Linked DNA regions of Homo sapiens: region 1 is linked to region 2. Evidence: promoter capture Hi-C in 16 types of primary human blood cells and fetal thymus (Javierre and others, 2016). All regions are on one chromosome and are shown on one strand. Each heading gives the region's core, a stretch centred on a gene start or on the middle of the fragment in contact. The rest is flanking DNA. Distances are from core to core; before and after follow the strand shown. Region 1 overlaps ALAS2 (5'-aminolevulinate synthase 2). Region 2 holds the start of FGD1 (FYVE, RhoGEF and PH domain containing 1).

Region 1 (3,911 bases), core at 985-3,484, 520 kb before region 2:
TCTTAACACACATACATAGTTATTTTATGTCTCCACAGGAGCTTTTTCAAACTTCTTCTCCTCTTCTAAAACCTCTGACTACCTTCTCCTCCACACTTAGCAAATAACCTCACATCTTACTTCACAATAAAAACAGAAGCCCCAGACAGAGAATCCTTATTTATTGCCACCAAACCTACGAACTTATCTAATTGTTTATCTAGCCTTGCCTCATTCTTTCCTTTTACAATGGAAGGCATATCTCTCCTTCTGCCTAAAACCAATCCCTTCACTTGTACACTGGTTCCCATATTCCCAGTCTCCTACTCTCTAGTCTGTAATGTCCTCACCTCATACGCCTTGTTGTCCTTCCGCCAAGGCCCAATCCAGAATGAATACAACCCTCCATCTTCACTATATCAATTCCGGGCTCATACAGTTGCTCAGACAGGAGTCACTAAAAATTCATACTCTTAACCTCTACTGGGTTCTCCATGGTCTCTGACAATCCCATTTCCCTGGTCAGTTCTCGAAGTTTATGGGGCAGTTTTGCCAAACCACCATTATCCTCAGCCTTCCCACACCCCCTCCTCCCCATCTCCCTCAGCAGACAACTTCATGTTCTACTACATTCAAAATAGAAGATACCAGACAGCAATGTCCTTGACTCCCAGCCACAAAGCACCTACAAACTCATAAGCATCTTCAAATGTCCTCTCCTCACTCCTTCTCTTCTGTCATAGTGGAAGAAGTATCCTTTTTCTTGTGACTAATCCTTCCACTGTTGCTCTGTGCCCCATTCCCCTCTACCACCTTAGGAATCTTGACCTATTGGCTCTCTCCTCCTCTCCTGTATCTTCAGCCTCTCCCTCTCTTTAAACATGTTTTCAAGTCTCTTGTATCTTATAAAAAAACATTGCCTCAACCCCTGATCACTCTCTAGCTACTGCCCTCTTTCCTCCCTATAACAGGCAAACTGCTTGAGAGAAGTCTTCGCTCTTACTATCTACTTCCTCACCTCCTGCTGATTCTTCAGCACAGCAAAAATATTACCACCACTTCTCAGAAACTTTTTTTGAGTCCACCCATAAGCCCCAACTAAACTCAACATCTTTAAGTTGTTTTTAGTCCATCCCCTCCTCAACCATTAAACTTCTTTCCATCTCTACTGCCAGCATCCTAGCCTGATCCAACATCATTTTTTAAAGAAAATTTTACCTTTGCCCTCCGATAATCTATTCTTTACAACAGTCAGAATTTTTTTTAATGCAAAACTATCTTTGTCACCCCACCCTCAGCCCTGGTCAAAACCCTTTAGTGGACCCCCATTCCCCCAGGACCAAATCCAAATTTCTTATCACAGCTTCTAAAGTTCTCAATAATCTGGCTTCTATGTATCTCTTCGGTCTCACCTTTTTGCATCCCTCCTCTCACTATTTCATTCAGTAATACATTCATTCATATACTCATTCACTTACTTATAAATCTGTCATCAGTTTATTTATCCATTCATTTAATAAATGTTTACTTAGCATCTACTGTGTGCTTACTCTTATACTGGACACCAGAGACAGAGAGATAATAAGATGTTTTTGCTCCCATGCAACTCCCAGTCTGCTTGTCTTTCAAGCCATTTTCTCCAGAAAGCCATAACTCATTTTCTCAGGTGGAAGTTATCCCTTAATCTTATAATAAGGCCACAGTTCCTTGATGGCAGTGCAGTTGGTGGCAGGGGTTGGGGAGGTCCAGGAATCAACTCCCTCTACCAATTTCACATGCCCACCTGCCCCACCAGGATTGCCCAGTAAAAAGCCCTGCATTCTTCAAATCTTTCTGGACCTTAGCTTTCTCACTTGTATAGTAAAGGGATGAATCCCATGATCACTAACAGCCCTGCCAGCTCTGACATGCCATAAGCTTATGATTCCAACAGTAAAAGCCTGATAAATATCCATCCCTGTAACCACAAGCAGATGCTACCTGGAATGGATGGAATTTCATCTAGACTAGGAACAATCTAGCATCAGTCCGAGTCAACAAACATTCCCTGGGGTAATCCCTTTTTCAAGTCTTGATCTTATATATTGGGGAGAAGGAAAATAGGTCCCGTCCTCAAAAAACTCTGAAGCTTCTTGGGAAATTAAATGTTCTTCCACCCCAAGGCAGTCAGAGGCTAGACCAGGGTTACAAATGACTGGAGGGAAGGATGTAGGGGTCAGAATTTGGGAACAGTGAAGTCCTTCCAAGGGAGAAAGAAGTGTCACAAAAGTTCCCAGAGAAGGAAGAAGCAGAGCAAGGTCTTCAAAGGGAAGAAAGGGTTGGCCCTTTTCTTTGCCAGGTCAAACCTGAAGGTTGAAGTGGGAGTACTGGGACAGAAGCTTAAGGATTATACATCTGCTTCCTCAGGGTGCGAGATTTACTCAGACGCAGGCAACCATGCTTCCATGATCCAAGGTATCCGTAACAGTGGAGCAGCCAAGTTTGTCTTCAGGCACAATGACCCTGACCACCTAAAGAAACTTCTAGAGAAGTCTAACCCTAAGATACCCAAAATTGTGGCCTTTGAGACTGTCCACTCCATGGATGGTATGTATATGAGTGAGTGTATGTTTACTAGTGTTGGTCTCACAAAAACCATGATGATCATGATGATGATGATGACGATAACATTATAACAGCTAATATTTATAGTGTTTATTATGTGCCAAGCAAAATTATTAGTATTTTACATGTATTAATTCATTTAATTTTCTGAACAATTCTATGTGATAGGTGTTATTATTATTTTGATTTTTTACATGAGGAAACTGAGACATAAGAGTAATTTGTCCAAGGTCACACAGCTAGTAAATGCCAAAGAATGGAGGCAGCTATTACATTCATCTTATAGGTAAAGAAACTAAAGTTCAGAGTTGGCATCCAATTCATCTTGAGTGGCTCAGCAAGTTGGTGCTAAAGTGAGTATCTGCACCCTAACACATATAACTCCAATTCCTCGAGTAACACTTCTCTTGTTAGAAATGATATGTAAATCAATAATCCCAGTGTTTGGTTTTTATGAAGGAAATTTCAAAAACCATTGCCTAGGATTTTTTTCAAGGTCCAGTATGAAGCATTGGGGTCAAAACAGGTTTTCAAGTCAGAGAGACCTGGGTTCAAATCCCACCTTTGACAGTTACTGGCTATGACCATGGGTAACTCTTTAACTGTCTAAGCCTCAATTTTCCCAAAGGTAAAATATCTGGTTGTAAGAATTAGAGATGATAGAAACCATTCTAGTTATTATGCTTTAGTAGAATTAAATGATCTTCACACTCCTACCTCCTTTCTTTGCTCAATTGAAACAATGTCCAAAGCTTTCTATTGCTGGCCCTGTTGTGTAGAAATCATGTGTTTTAGGCATCCTCTTATGGATTTATTTAAGGGAAGAGGTCCTCAACTCATTTCAGTTTGTCCCTTTTCCAACTGAAACAAAAGAGTCCATAGTATTCCCTGATTTAGGTATCTTAAGTGGCATGTAATGACTATACACACAGGCTCTAAAACCAGACTATCCATGTTCAAATCCTAGCATGACCATTTACTAGCTTGGGCAAGCTTCTTAATTGCTCTGTGTCTCAGTTCTCAGTTGCTTATTTGAAAAATGTAAGTGATAATAATTAAATAGGTATGCAAATTAAATGAGTTAATATATGTAAGAAACTTACTATTATGCCCACTCCCACATTTCTAACACTAGCAATAAAGTAAAACTATCCTATCCCTTTTGTATATTTCTACCACTGAGACTATTCAAATTCATTATTTCTCTAGTGGAAACTATGTTGGTACCATTCTACCTCGTTACATTTGCAAATAAATAGTTATTTACCTATTTTTGGGGTGCAAACTCTGCCCAAACTGTTGATCCTTAGGCTGAATCTCTCCCATTG
Region 2 (6,500 bases), core at 1,660-4,159:
GTGCCTGGCCCATAGTTTGTGTTCAAAAGACATTCGTTGAATGAGCTGAGATCTGAAGAACAAATGAAGTGGAATTGGGGAGATGCAGAGAAAGTTTCACTCAGCGAGAACAGCATATGCAAAAACTTGGAGGCTAGAGAGACTAAGGAATAGTCTAAGAATTTCAGCACGGAAAGGCTGGCAGGGGCACAGATCATGAAGGGCCATTTAACCTTTCCTGTTAAGGAAGGTGGGTTTCATTTTGAGCCAGTAGAGACTCACTGAAGGGTCCTAAACATGGGAGTGATATAATTTGATTTAACTTTTATTTAATTATATATATATATATATATATTTTTTTTTTTTTTTTTTTTTTTGAGACGAGTCTCGCTCTGTCGCCCAGGCTGGAAGCAGCATGATCTTGGCTCACTGCAACCTCCGCCTCCCGGGTTCAAGCAATTCTCTGCCTCAGCCTCCCAAGTAGCTGGGATTACAGGCATCCGCCCCCATGCCCGGCTAATTTTTGTATTTTTGGTAGAGATGGGGTTTCACCATTTTGGCCAGGCTGATCTCGAACTCCTGACCTGAAGTGATCCACCCACCTCGGCTTACCAAAGTGCTGGTATTACAGGTGTGAGCCACCGCACCCGGCCTTATTTATGTTTTCAAAAGATATACACTGCCTATAGTGTAGAGAATAGATTCCAGAGAACAAGACTGAAATAGGGAGGCTGTGACAGTATTGCAGGTTAGAAATGGTTCTGGTCTAAACCAGGGTAGTGGCCCCAGAAATGTAGAGACTACATAAATAGATTTGGTAGGAGGTCAAAATGATGGGACTTGGTGACTGCATGGGTGATGGAGGAGAGAAAAGAATTAAGGGTGTAACCCGGGTTTCTGCTTTGACTGGGGTCATTCACTAAGGTAAGACACAAAGAAGGACAAACAGGTTGGAAGGAGGATGCCTTGAGTTGGGAAGAAGCTGAGGTTTTAGGTGTCTCTGGGATATTCAGGTAGAGCTGCCTAATAACCAGTTGAATGCATGGGTCAGGAGAAATATCTGGTTTTGAGGTATCAATTTGGGAGTCATCAGCAAAGATATGATCATTGAAGCCAGGGGAGCAAATGAGATAAAGAAAAGAGCGGCCTGTAATCCGAGGCTTCTCTTTCCTCAAGTGGATCACTTGAGGTCAGTAGTTGGAGACCTGCCTGGCCAATATGGCAAAACCCCGTCTCTACTAAAAATACAAAAATTATTCGGGCTTGGTGGTGCATGCCTGTAATGCCAGCTACTTGGGAGGCTGAGGCAGAAGAATAGCTTGAACCCGGTAGGCGGAAGTTGCAGTGAGCCTAGATCGCGCCACTGCACTCCAGCCTAGGCGACAGAGCAAGACTCTGTCTCAGAAAGAAAGAAAGAAAAAAAAATCACATGTAGAGAGAGGACAAGAGCGCTCAGGCCAAAGCCCTGAAGAGCACCAGCATAAAGCGTTGGACAAAGAGGAGCCTGGAAAGTAAAAAAAGAATTACTAAGGAAGTAGAAGAAAAACAAGGAAAGTGCAGTGTCATGGAAGTGGTTTAAGGAGGAGGGAGTGGTCAACAGTGCCAAATGCTATCAAGAAACCAAGTAGGATAACCTCTGAAAAGATTCTATGGGGGCTGGGCGCGGTGGCTGACGCCTGTAATCCCAGCACTTTGGGAGACAGAGGCCGGCGAATTACAAGGTTAGAAGTTCGAGACAAGCCTGGCCAGTATGGTGAAACCCCGTCTCTACTAAAAATACAAAAAAATAGCTGGGCGTAGCTACTCGGGAGGCTGAGGCAGAAGAATCGCTTGAACCCAGGAGGCGGAGATTGTAGTGAGCCGAGATCGTGCCGCTGCATTCCAGCCTGGGCGACAGAGTGAGACTCTTGTCTCAAAAAAAAAAAAAAAGAAAAGATTCTATGGGATTTAGTGAGATGTTTCATGGCAGACCCTGATGAGAGAGAGCAGTTTCAAGCAAGTAGTGGAGGCAGATTGGAGTGGGTTGAAAGATAAGTGGGAGGTGGGAAAATGAAGACAGTTGGGTGTAGGCAACTCTTTTGAGAAGTTTGTAGAAGAGAAGAGAAGGAGGTGGTTGGAGAGGCAGAATTCTTGGTAATTGTTTATTTGTTTTTAGATGGAAGAGGTCTATGTTTAGATGCTGTTGGGAAGGAGCAAGGACAAATTCCTAGGCTTCGTAGCAAAAAGTCAAGAGCTTCCTCTACGGTGGCTCTGTTTACTCTCTGCAGCAGGTCAGGTTATTTGCTGAGGGTTACAGGGCAGATGGAGCACTTGGGGTTTGAGGGGAAAGGAGAAGGTTTGAAATGGTCACTGTGGAGAACAGAGGGAGAGCTGACTAGTAGGGTTGTGGGTCAAAACTGAGGGCCTGGTAGAAGCTGGGAACCATGGGTTTATAGTGGCACAAATCTGTGAAGTTGAATAGTTTTCCCCAGCAATGTTTAGCTGCCTGGGCGCAGGCATGGAAAAGGCGGACAGTTGGACCGATTCAAGACTGGGATGTTGCCAGGCGGATGCGACAAATCAGGGAACTGAGGGTATTTAAGAAAGTGACTAAGTAAGGGACCAAGATATCTGGTCTGAGCAAAGTGAAGGAGAATCAGAGACAGGTCCTCTATGAGCCAAGCCCTAGGAACACTCAGGAACATGAAGAAAGGGTTTTGGAAAAGAGAGTGAACGGCAAGCAGAGGGGGGAAGACCTGAGATGGGATGGAAGGGCAGATATGGGGGGAGGGGGTTGAGCCCGGAGACTTGCCTGTGGGGAAAGCAGGCTGAGGGGGAATTTTTTAAGGGGCAGGAGGGCCTTGAGAGCGGTAGCAGCGAGAAGTGAGGCGGCCCCGAGCGAGGGGGCGTGGTCAGGCGCAAATCCCGGGCGAGGGGGCGGGGCCCCGGTAACTGGGTCCCAGTGCCGCTGTGGCTGCGGCTGCCTCTGCGAGGCTCCCGCCTCCCCACCCCCCTTCCCAGGGCTCCTTCCCGCCCGCCGCCGCCGAGACCCAGGCTGAAGCTGGGGAGGACGGTGGAGCCCGGCCCAGGCCGTTCTCCTGCCCCCGCGGCTGGAGCATCGTCTGGGACTACTGGCTGAAGGCGAGCCCCGCAGCCCAAGCGCAGCGCACACGCGCGCCCCCGGCCACCGCCGTTCTCTCTTCCCTCCCCTCCTCTCCCCTCCCCTCTCCTCCGCCCCCGGCCTCGGCTGCGGCGGGAGGAAGAACGCTTCCCAACCAGCCAGGAGAGCCCAGATCTATTCCCATTCGGGGAGAAAGAAGAGACCCCGCACTTGGATCCGACCGACTTCTCGCCCCGGGGCCACGGAAGTGGCTCGCCGTCCACCGGAGAGTCCCCGCCGAGCGTAGCCCTCCAACCCTCGCCCAACCGCAGCCGCATAGACAGCGCTCCCCAGCGGGCCCCCGGCCCCGCCGAGCCCACTCCCCGCGCGGGGCCGGGGCCGGGGCCGGCGATGCCTGGCACGGCAGCGGCGGTGGCCGCGGCTGCTGCTGCTGCTACTGCCACCGCTGCCACGGCTGCTGGCCCGGGCCCGGGCTGGGGGCTTGAGTCTCTGCAGTGGGGCTGAGCCCGCAGTCCCGCCCCCCGATCCTGAGGCCGCTGCTCCGCCGGGCGCCGGGCCTCCTCCGCCCGCGCCTCCGCCCCAGGAGCTGGAGCCAAGCGGGGAGCTCGGGCCCCGCGCCCAGGCCCGGACCATGCATGGCCACCGAGCCCCGGGGGGCGCCGGGCCTTCGGAGCCCGAACACCCGGCCACGAACCCGCCGGGCGCCGCTCCGCCGGCCTGTGCCGACTCGGACCCTGGAGCCTCGGAACCCGGACTGCTGGCGCGCAGGGGCTCAGGTTCGGCTCTTGGCGGCCCACTGGATCCCCAGTTTGTCGGACCCTCGGACACCAGCCTGGGCGCTGCTCCAGGCCACCGGGTCTTGCCCTGCGGTCCCAGTCCACAGCACCACCGGGCCCTGCGCTTCTCTTACCACCTGGAGGGCTCGCAGCCTCGGCCTGGTGAGTGAGCGACTGAGAGAGCATGGGAGCCCGGGCCACGGGCCTGGTACTGGGAGCGGGTTCTTGTTCTCGAGCCCTCTAAGCCCCACCTCGGAACAGGCTCGCTTACCTCGGCCCTTTGGGTTCCCTCAAACCCCTCCTCCTCCCCACGTCCCTTGGCCTTATGTCCAGTCCTTTCAACCTCTGTCCCCATCTCCTCTCTCTGTCCCTTGTGCCCCTCAACCTCTCCAACCCCCTTCTCCTCTGTCTGCTGAGGCTAATGGGAGAGGGAGCACTCGCGAGAAAAAGAGGGAGGATTGCAAGGCAGCAATCCTTGGATATTTGGTTGGGGAAACCAGGGTTTCGTTTGGAGAACAGAAGAAAAAAAGGAGCCTTACATTTGCCAAGCGCCTACATTGTACCAGGCACTGGACTGGGTGCTTTACATGGATTTTCATTTCAGCTTCAGGAACCCTCATGAAGTAGATACCATTAGTCCCATTTTGTAGGGAAGGAAACTGAAGCTCAGAGAAGTTAAGCAACTTGCCCAAGGTCACACAGCTAGTATGGAGCCACGATTCAAACCAGATCTGTTTGTGTCCAAAGTCTGTGGTCTTTCTGCTTCCCCAAACTGAGGCTGGAGACCATGAAAGTAATGCCAAGCCTTCTGCTTATGTGATTTTCTCCTGTACTATTCAGCAGCCCTGGAGTATGAGCGGAAAAAAAAAAAAAAAAAAAAAAAAAGAAAGACGGTGGATTGATCCAAGGTTGAGATTTTGCCAGGTGTGTGTGGCGGGAGAACAAGGGAAGGAAGGAGTAGAAGGTGCTGAGAGAGAAAGGTGGAAGAGGTGGGCCTTGGGAGTCAGGCTAGAGGAGAAGGCTGGAGGGGCTGATAGGTAGGGAGACAGCAGAAAAGCCAACAGAGGCAGAAGCCAGTTGTAGCAGGAGCTGGAGAGCTGCAGGTCCACGAGGTTGGTTGTGATGTGAAATCAGGATGGTTTCTTGGATTTGAAAAGGTGGAGCAGCTTTAAGTCAGGCTGAGGCCACAGACCACTGCCTTTGTGCTACACAGACCTGAGTGTCTGAGGAGCACAGCAGGACCTTCCCCATCTGGGGACATTCTCATACGGGCCTGAGCCCAGGAGCCACAGAAGAAGAGCAGCGCACATCTGCCCTGCCTTCCACTGGGACTGAAGGAGTTGTTAAGCCCTTGGGGGCTCCCGGGTTCACACCTCAGGCTCCACAGATCTCTGGGACCGTGGCCTTGCACCAGGTAGCAGTAGTGAAGTATAAAGCATGGGTAGGATGTGCCTTTTGGTGCCTTCATGACCTTGGGCTAGTCATGGAACCTCTGGGAGATTTCAGGGGGCTCCCTCAGTGTGGGCTGAAGATAACCAGCTGGCAACAGGCCCTTAACACCTTGGCCTGCATGTTACTTCTGCTGGCTTTCCAAACTCCCCTTGACACTGTGTAAAGCCAGTGCCTTTTTGCAGCTGCCAAAACAGGCCACAAGCACTCCCACCCCAGGACTTTTGCATTGGCTTTTCCTTCTGGCTGGAAGCTCTTCCCCTAGCCCTCCACCTGGCTTGCTCCTCGTCTTGCATGTCTCAGGTCAAATGTCACCTCTTCCAAGAGACTGTCCCTAACCACTTTAGGTAGGGCCACTTGTGAGTCTCCATCAGAGACTGTGAGTGTGCTTCCATCTTTGCACTTAGTACAATCTGAAATTATCTTATTGTATGTGTCTACTCGTTTATTGCCTATCTTCCTCTACTAGAATGTGAGCTCCATGGGGGCAAGGCGATTATATCTCTTTTGCTCACTGTTGTATCCCCAGCAACTAGCGCAGTGCCTAACACGCAGTAGGTGTTCAAGAAATCCTCATTAAATAAATGCCTAAACAGATACTAAAGAAGCACATAGTAGGCCCTCAGTAACTATTGCCTAAAAGAAGGACACCAAATTCCTGCCCTCTGGATACTCTTGATCTGAAAGTCAGTAGCTGGGCAATGTCTAGACCCCCAGTCTCTGGCCTCTGTAATCAATACAAGGTGATGATTCTGAGTATGCCTTCCCAATCCACCAATTCATTCAAATTACAAATCATAATACCCTTCCTAAACCACTCTCCTCCTCCCCAAAAAGGCAACACAGAGTTCCCAGGATCCTTTTCCCCAACGAAGTCCTTGCCTCTGTAATTGCATAGTGGGTGTCTTTTTTTTTTTTTTTTTTGATTCAAGATGGGGATTAGGAATAAGACAAGTGTCAGGGAAGGACCTGGCCTCCTATTCTAACTAATTCACTTTGTGACCCTGGGTGAGTGACTTTTCTTCTCTGAACCTCAGTTTCTTCATCTAGAGAATGCAATGAGGAGTCTATGAATTAATGGTTGTAAAGCCTGCAGCATGGTATAAATCCTCAGCAACCAGGAGTTTAAAAAAATAAAATTAAGTTAAAAAATAAGAGAAAAACCTTCTGAAGAAGAGGCGGAGGAATTACTCAGG

Evidence for each region. Contacts are between HindIII fragments. The CHiCAGO score rates a contact against its expected background, and 5 or more counts as called.
Region 1: a contact is called between a fragment that was not itself captured here and the fragment with the promoter of FGD1 in region 2, in 1 of 17 cell types (monocytes). The highest score is 6.0, in monocytes.

What each region holds. Positions count from the first base shown.
Region 1 is chrX:55,016,140-55,020,050 of GRCh38, reverse strand. It overlaps ALAS2 (5'-aminolevulinate synthase 2), which reads left to right. Exons shown (of 11, transcript NM_000032.5): 7 at 2,386-2,565. Among named protein-coding and RNA genes, the nearest start is that of ALAS2, 13 kb to the left of the region's middle. The HindIII fragment of the contact is 250 bases long and covers 2,110-2,359 here.
Region 2 is chrX:54,492,643-54,499,142 of GRCh38, reverse strand. It overlaps FGD1 (FYVE, RhoGEF and PH domain containing 1), which reads left to right and starts at 2,909. Exons shown (of 18, transcript NM_004463.3): 1 at 2,909-4,017. The coding sequence starts at 3,711. RefSeq lists a silencer at 2,797-2,846. The HindIII fragment of the contact is 12,526 bases long and covers 1-6,500 here.